3 separate regions of the Homo sapiens genome follow, and all the other regions are linked to region 3. The links are contacts of gene promoters, found by promoter capture Hi-C in blood cells and fetal thymus (Javierre and others, 2016). All regions are on one chromosome and are shown on one strand. The core of a region is centred on a gene start or on the middle of the fragment in contact, and the rest is flanking DNA. Distances in the headings are between cores, read along the strand shown.

Region 1 (2,700 bases), core at 67-2,566, 210 kb after region 3:
ATTCTGGGGTAAGGCAAGTTAATCAGATTTCTTTGTCCCAGGATATTGCAGAGTCTTAAATATGGTAAAAGTGCAATGTGAATCTCTAAGAAGGTGTTACCATTTGCAGGCTTTCCCTCTGGGAGAGCATCTCATGGGACCAGTGTCCCTGGGAACACACTTGGGTAATGCTCTGGGAGTTGCAGGTTGATCTGGAGCTAGGGGTTAAAGTTAGGCCTGGAAAACACCATGGCATAGAGCCCAGAAAGGGATGGGAACCAGGAGGCTGTCCTCTGATTCACCATAATTGTAAGTTTCCTGAGGCCTTCCCAGGGGCCAAGCAGATGCCAGAACCATGCTTCCTGTACAGCCTTGCAGAATTGTGAGCTATGAGTGAATCATAACTCACTCATTCATTCATTCATTCATTCAAGAAGTACTTACTGAATTCCTACTGCACAAAAGTACTGCATTAGATGCCGTGGGGGAAACAAATGACTCCTGCCCCCAAGAGCTTATCAGGGCATTTGGGCCACTTCACTGCCCATGAATCAGGCACCCATGGAAAGCCAAGCACTAGGCTGGTGCTGGGAGCGCTGCAGTGAATGAGACCCATGCCTGCCCTCGTGGAAGTGCTCAGTCAGTGGAAGAGACCAGCAGGTACATGGGTCACTACAACGCAGGTGATGTGCATGGCATTCAAGGTGTCGACAGCTTCCGGGAAGGGAGCAACTAACCCTGAAGGACACCCCTTTGAGGAGCTGAGCAGGGTTCCAGAGCATGACTGGGAGCTCTCCAGGAAGCTGAGAGAGGATGGAGATGAGTATTCCAGGTCGAGGGAATGGCAGATGCAAAGGTATGAAGTCAAACACTGACGTAATATCTTTTGTGAATTTCTACGTGCTATGGTCTGAATGTCCGCAAAAATTCCTGTGTTGAGACATAATCACAAATGCAATAGTATTTAGTGGGGACCTTTAGGAGGTGATTGAACCATGAGGGCAGAGCCCTGGTGAAGGGGATTGAGGCCCTCTGAAAAGAGGCTTCACATCTTGGTCAGCTTGCTTGTTCTGCTCTTCTGCCACATGAGGACACAGAGTTTGTCCCCTTTGGCCCTTCCATCCCTTCCACCAAGTGAAGACACAGAGAAGGCACCGTCTATAAGGAGCAGGCCCTCATCAGACACTGAGCCTGTTGGTGCCTTGATCTTGGACTTCCCAGCCTCCAGAACTGTGAGAAATCAATTTCTGCTGTTTACAAGTTACCCGGTCTTGGGTATTTTGTCATAGCAGCAGAAACAGACTAAGACACTATGTAAGTAACACTGGCACAGAAGTGATTGCTAGATCAAACGTAATATATGACCCCTTATGGCTGTTCATAAAGCAGGCTGGCAATGCCACCAGATCCCTTAAGGAGGACAGTCTGTGACAGCTCATGGTGAGGTCAGCTGGTTCAGGCACCACACACAGGCACACAGCACGGGTGGCTCAGCTTGCAAATTCCAGGCCTTCCTTAGGTGTCCTGGGGCCTCTGACCCATCACCCAAGATGACTTCTGTCTCCCAGCCTGGTTCCTCTGAGAAGCCTGGATCCCCTTTCTATTTCCACCTGCCCCAGTTCCTGGACCAAACTGGGCTTTCCTTAGACTCTCCTTCCCATTCTGAGATCCAGTACAATCTCACAGGGGTCTACTCCCTGCTCAGGGACCCTGACCCAGGTCCCCAACTCCCAGCTCTCTCATCTAACCCTTATTGGCTCCTCTCAACCTTCTTCTCACCCTTCTCTCTCACCCCTGGGACAGCTGAGACCAATCTTTGCCCCTCCAGGCTCCAAATGGGCATCCACAAGTTCAGTCATTTCTCAGACACAGGGGCATCATGGCTGCCACAACAAAATGTCATCAAGGAGAAAAAGAGAAACAAGGGAGGGGCTGTTTCCCATAGTGTCTCACTGGGTTTGGAGTCATGGCTATGGAGACCCCACCCCCACCCCCATGGGACTATAGAAATGCTCTGCCCCTCCCCACCGCCCCGCCCCCCTCCACTCCTCCACCAAACCCATCAGATCAAAGTGTCTGCCTGGATCAGCCCTGCCCCAGAAACCCTGATGACACAGTGCAGGGGACCCTGGAGCCACCAGCACCCCCTACCCTCTACCAATCACACTTGCTGCGAGCACCTCCTTCCTTGCTGCCCCTGTGGATGGCACAAAGGTAAAACCAAGACTCTATTGCTACAAGCCAGGCACGGTGGCTCACGCCTGTAATCCCAGCGCTTTGGGAGGTTGAGGCGGGTGGATATCTTGAGGTCAGGAGTTTGAGACCTGCGTGGCCAACATGGTAAAACGCTGTCTCTACTAAAAATACAAAAATTAGCCAGGTGTGGTGGTGGGCGCCTGTAATCCCAGCTACTTGAGAGGCTGAGGCAGGAGAATCGCTTGAACCCGGGAGGCAGAGGTTGCAGTGAGCCGAGATCACACCACTGCACTCCAGCCTGGGCAACAGAGAGACACTCCATCTCAAAAAAAAAAAAAAAAAAAAAAAAAAAAAAAAAAGACTCTATTGCTACAGCACTGTCCCTGGTGATGGTGAGTCCCCAGGCAGCAGAAACCGTGCTGGAGTTGACCCCATCTCCTTCCCTCAGCCCCCCAGCCCTACACACTCACACACATCCATAAACACCCACTTTCAGCCAGAGGCACTGCACATTTACACACACTC
Region 2 (2,700 bases), core at 176-2,675, 130 kb after region 3:
TTTATTTTTCATTTTCCCCATTTGATGATAAATTCTCAAGTAGGAACCTAGCTGTTTTGCTTGTGGCTGAATCTGAGCAATTAGAACACATGGTAGGGTATCGTATCTGTTGAGTGAAGGATCCCTGCAAGGAGAAATAGGTAATACTAATGGCCACTTACTGAGCCCCTGCAAGTACATGGCACCATCCAACTGTAACCTCATTTTGTCCTCACAGTATAAAACCTTGCAAGGGAGTGTCCCCATTTTACACCTGAGGAAACTGAGGCTCTGGGGGTTCAAGCAACTTTCCCAAGACCATGCAGAAAGCAAGAAGCAGAGACCCAGGTCTGTCTAATTCTAAGTCCTTGCTCTTGCCACTGTGTTTTTTTTCTCCTAACTTTTATTTTAGGAGTACATGTGAAGATTTGTCATATAGATAAATTGCATGTCATGGGGATTTGGTGTACAGATTATTTCATCACCCCGGTGATAAGCATAGTACCCAATAGGTAGTTTTTCGATCCTCTCTCTCCTCCCACCCTCCACCCTCAAGTAGGCCCCAGTGTCTTTTGTTCCCTTCTTCTTTTTCTTTTTTTCTGGAGACTTAGTCTCACTCTGTTGCCCAAGCTGGAGTGCAGTGGTGCAATCTCAGCTCACTGCAACCTGTACCTCGCAGATTCAAGTGATTCTTCTGTCTCAGCCTCCCGAGTAGCTGGGATTACAGCCACCTGCCGCTATGCCTGGCTAATTTTTGTATTTTTAATAGAGACAGGGTTTTACCATGTTGGCCAGGCTGCTCTCGAACTCCTGACCTCAAGTGATCTGCCCACCTCAGTTTCCCAAAGTGCTGGGATTACAGGCGTGGGCCACCGTACCCAGCCTCTTGTTCCCTTCTTTGTGTCCATGTGTATTCAATGTTTAGCTTCCGCTTATAAGTGAGAACATGTGGTATTTGGTTTTGTGTTCCTATGTTAGTTCACTTAGGATAATGGCCTCCAGCTCCATCCACGCTGTTGCAAAGGCTTTTTTATGGCTGTGTAGTATTCCATGGTGTATATGTACCACCTTTTCTTTATTCATTCTACTGTTCATGGACATTTAGGTTGATCCCATGGCTTTGCTGTTGTGAATAATGCTGCAGTGAACATACATGTGCATGTGTCTCTGTGGTAGAACAATTTATATTCCTTTGAGCATCTACCTAATATTCGGATTGTTGGGTCAAATGGTACATCTGTTTTAAGCTCTTTGAGAAATTTCCACACTGCTTTCCACAATGGCTGAGCTAACGTACATTGCCACACTGTTATTAAAACAGGCTTATTGCCCTTGTTTAACACATAAGAAGACAGAGACTCAGAGAGGTATATGCTCATGTGCCCAAAAGCCTCAGCCAGGAAGAGCAGGGCTGGGATTGGAACCCAGAGTGCTGCTGCTGTCTCTGCAGGGGCAGGGGCTGGCAGGAGACCCAGGCAGCTGAGAGGCTGGCCCAGCCAGGCAGCTGTCTATAGTGAGAGGGGTCTTAGGGGTAGGCAGGAGCCTGTCCAGTTTGACAGCAGGGTCTAAGTGCTTCATGAGTATTAGCTGTCTTCTCAACAACCTTAGGAGGGAGAGTGTTATTATCCCCATTTTGCAGGTGGAAAAACTGAGGCACAGAAAAGTTATATTATTTACCCAAGGTCACTCAGCTAGGAAGTGGTGATGCCGGCTCCAGAGCACACACTGCTAACCACAGCACAGCACTGTTTCTCTGAGGAGACGAAGCTGGGCCAGGCACCGGATCCCCCAGGAAGCCCCCAAGAAGGAAGCCTATAGCCTGGGGCCAGCATCCTTGGGACCTTGACTGATCCCAGTCCTTTGGGGTCCTTGGTCAGATCAAGAGGGCATTAGGTCCTGCCTGCAGCTGAAGGCCTTTGGCAGCTCCATACCCTGCAAGGTACTCGGGCCCTGGAACCAGGCAGCAGGAGTAGACCCTGGCTCTGCCCACACCCGGATTTGTGTGCTCCTGGCCAGGCCACTTGAATGCTCAGAGCCTCAGTTTCCTCAGCTATAAAACAGGGCCAGGAGTTCATCAGGATGTTGCGATGAGAGCAGAGGAGGTGACGATGATGAGTTAGGCTCCATCCAGCGTGGAGTCCCACCTCCTGAGTGGTGAGCGAGCAGTGGCTGAAAGCACATGGTGTCCAGCTCAATTTAGATCCCTCCTCTACCACTCACTGCATCAGTGACATTGGACAAGCGACTTACCTCTCTGTGCCTGTATCCCTTGTAAGTGGGGATAATTATAGTATAATTTGAGATTACATGATTAATCCATATAACGCACTTAAAACAGCATCTGCCCCACGGTAAGCACTAAGTGTGAACCGTCATTTAATAGAAGATAAATGTTAAAACATTAGTTCTGGCCGCTTTTGGAACTAAAGAGACCCTTCTAAGCAGAGTTCCCATGAGGTCAGAGAAAATAAGCTAGGAAGTTGTGGTCTCAAGCCCTCACTTGGTGACAGTGTGGGCTATCTTTGCAGGCTGCCCTTCACCACAAGTTGCCTCCCGACTCCTCATCTCCAGTTTTCTCGAGGATTAGTCCTTGTCTGTGGGTGCTAGAGCTAAGTGCTTGTCAAGTTTATGAACTTTCAGAGCCATTTTTAGAAACAACCAGGACTCCTCATTTTTATAAGGGCTGAGATAAGAATGGTCTGTAAGATTAGAGGTTTGTCA
Region 3 (2,700 bases), core at 153-2,652:
TCCTGGTGGCCTTCCAGGATGACACCCATTTCAACTGGACTCTTGGAGCTTCAAGAGACGACCCAACTTTCCAAACCTTAGATGGATTCCCAAAGCCTGTGGTACCCCATTTTCTTGGTATGGACTGAAGGGGAGGGATTGCTGGGACATTTTGATAGTATGTGGGACAAAGGGACACAGGAGATGTGGGTAGCATAGACTTAAACTGCCTTCGACTTAAACCACCTGCTCCTGCACTGGGCTCCTCCACTCACTCCACAGAGTTCCGAGCTCCTGATGAAGTCTCCTCAGTCAGGAGTGGGCTCCCAACTGCCAGGGGTTCAGCCTGGGTGATTGCCGCAGGCCCCCTGCAGCCGCCCACCATCCAGACTTCAGTAAAGTCTGTTAATGATGATGGTGATGAAGGCTGTCAGAGCAGGGCAGGGCCCACAGGGTTGGGGCTAGGGTTGTGTTCTCCCTGAAGGGACGGCCATGCACAAAACCACGGCTGCACAGACAGGTCCATTCCACAGCGTGGGGGTGGCTGGGGCTTTCCCCAGATTCACCCATGGACTTCCTTCACCCCATCCCCAAACTGCACTGGGAGCAAGATCAACAGAGAAGGAGAAATCTAATACAGACATAGACGAGTCTGCAGTGAGGGGCTCGCGGGCCAGCTCAGAACAACGGGGCAGGGAGGGGAGGCCTGGGGTCTGCCTGCAAGGGCCCAGCCCACCAGTGCCGAGTGACCACCCTCCCCCCAGCCCCACCCCAGGCCCTCGGGTAGCGCCAAGGCCCAGTCTCCCACTCGGAGGCCCCGGCCCAGCCCCGGTGCCTGGGAAAGCCGCCTGTTTTGTTCCCAGATGCCACCCCCCCACACACACCCTTTTTTTTTTTTTTCCATTCATTGCAGTTCGGTCCCTTTCGAAGCCGCAGGGACCCGGGTGGCAGGGCTGAGGCGAGGGGGTGGGACTCCCTGCCCTGACAGGTAGTGCCGGCCCCCGCTTTGGGAAGCCCCTTCCCCCGCCCTCCCCTCCGTCCGCTCTCCCTGCCCCTGTCAGCCGCGCCAGACGCTCTCCGGCTTTGCAGCATTCAATAAAAATTGAGAAACATTTGGGCTGAAATCGCTGCTTTATCTGGAGGAGCCACAGCGCCGGGAGAGACCACTGCTGCGCGGGGGGAGCCCGGGGTCTCAGTGGCCCGGGCACGCGGGGTCGCCGCGCTCCAGCGCCCGCGCTGCCCCCGGGTGACCCTACGGGCGCGGTGTGGGGACCCGGGCTCGCGGCGGCGCGCGGCCGCCGGGGGCCGGGACGCGCGCGGGGGGCGGTGGCCTGGCGAGGCTCCCCCCGCGCCCGCGGCTCAGGTGGGCCGTGCCCAGCGCTGGCGGAGCCCGGGTCCCCGTTCTGCCCGGGCTGGATGGCTCATTCTGCTGGCTGCGCGGTGGCGGCGGCTGTGTGTGCGCCGCGCCTTGCCGCCCCCCCTGGCCCCCCGAGCCCGGGGCGCGCGCTCCCGCCCGGGCCGTCCGGGCCCCGCGGCGCCGCGGCCCGAGGCCCCGGGAAGCGCAGCCATGGCTCTGCGGAGGCTGGGGGCCGCGCTGCTGCTGCTGCCGCTGCTCGCCGCCGTGGAAGGTGAGCGAGCGGGCGGGCGGGCGGGCGATGGGGGCGGGGAGCGGCCGGGCACGGGCGGCCGCCGGCGCCCACCTCCGCTCCGCGGCCCGCAAAGTTTGCCCGGGGGCCGGCGCCGGGCGCAGGTGGCCGCGGGGAGGTGTGTCCGGCCGCGCCGGGAGGAGCGGGCCCCGCGGGCGCCCGGGGAGCGGCGGGCGCTGATTGACTGTGCCAGGAGGAGGCGAAGGGACCATCTTGCCGAGGCTTTGTAGCCAGCCCGGCGAGCGCCGCCCAGGGCTGGGGGCTGCCCACGCGCGCTCGCCGCCCCCGGCTCGGGCAGCCGCCTCGCGCCGGCCTGGTCTTGCTCCGCACAGGGTGGAGGGGCGCGGGCCCGGCCGTGGCGGGGGGCGGGGGGGGCGCCGGCGCTCGGTCGGGGCTGGAAAGTTTGGCAGGGAGCAGAGGGAGGGAGGCACCGCGGCCGGCCGGGGTGGGGGCTCCCGGCCCGCGCCCCCGAGATGGGGCCCGGCGCCCCGGAGAGCAGGGACTGGCAGAGTGGAAGGGAGCGCGCCAGCCCCCGCGTCGGTGCCTGCCCATCGCCCGCGGCGTACAATGGGGTCCCCTCCCCGAGAGGACTGCGCGGGGGATGGGTCTGTGGGCATCTCTCCGCCGCGCAAGGTCTCCGGGCACCCCCGCCGGCCACCGCCCCGCGGCCGCGGCGCTCAGCGTGGCGGCTGGAGCCCCGGGAACTCTCCAGCTGCCGCCGGGGCCGGACCAGATGCTCTTGCCATGTGTTGGCCTTGGCCAGGGTCGCGGGCCCTCTCCCCGTGGCCTCGTGTATTGGTACCACTCGACCCCCAGGGGGGCAAGGGTAGTTGCTAGGTCTCCCGAGCCAGCTTGCTCTGGAGGGAAAGTTAGTGCGGTCTGGGTGTGTCCACCAGGAATGGCCGAGCTTGCAGGGCAAGAAGCGAACGTGAATAATGGTTCTCACGTGTACTGCACTTTACAGTTTTCAAACCACTTTACAGTTTATGAAGTACTTCGCACTATACGCAGCTCTCTGTGGTTTACAACGTGCTGCACAGTTGACAAGGTACTTTAAGCTTTACAAAGTGCTTTC

The links. The method cuts DNA at HindIII sites, captures the fragments that hold promoters and counts their contacts. A CHiCAGO score of 5 or more calls a contact.
Region 1: a fragment that was not itself captured here is called in contact with the fragment with the promoter of EPHB2 in region 3 in 1 of 17 cell types (endothelial precursors); the score reaches 6.0 in endothelial precursors.
Region 2: a contact is called between a fragment that was not itself captured here and the fragment with the promoter of EPHB2 in region 3, in 4 of 17 cell types (M1 macrophages, M0 macrophages, endothelial precursors and 1 more). The highest score is 7.2, in M1 macrophages.

Annotation. Positions count from the first base shown.
Region 1 is chr1:22,922,546-22,925,245 of GRCh38, forward strand. No RefSeq gene overlaps it. Among named protein-coding and RNA genes, the nearest start is that of LACTBL1, 49 kb to the right of the region's middle. RefSeq lists an enhancer at 2,195-2,695. The HindIII fragment of the contact is 9,052 bases long and covers 1-2,700 here.
Region 2 is chr1:22,842,978-22,845,677 of GRCh38, forward strand. All of the region lies in intron 3 of EPHB2 (EPH receptor B2), which reads left to right. Among named protein-coding and RNA genes, the nearest start is that of MIR4253, 19 kb to the right of the region's middle. The HindIII fragment of the contact is 6,267 bases long and covers 1-2,700 here.
Region 3 is chr1:22,709,437-22,712,136 of GRCh38, forward strand. It overlaps EPHB2 (EPH receptor B2), which reads left to right and starts at 1,403. Exons shown (of 16, transcript NM_017449.5): 1 at 1,403-1,607. The coding sequence starts at 1,547. RefSeq lists a silencer at 90-375 and an enhancer at 2,597-2,696. The HindIII fragment of the contact is 2,980 bases long and covers 1-2,681 here.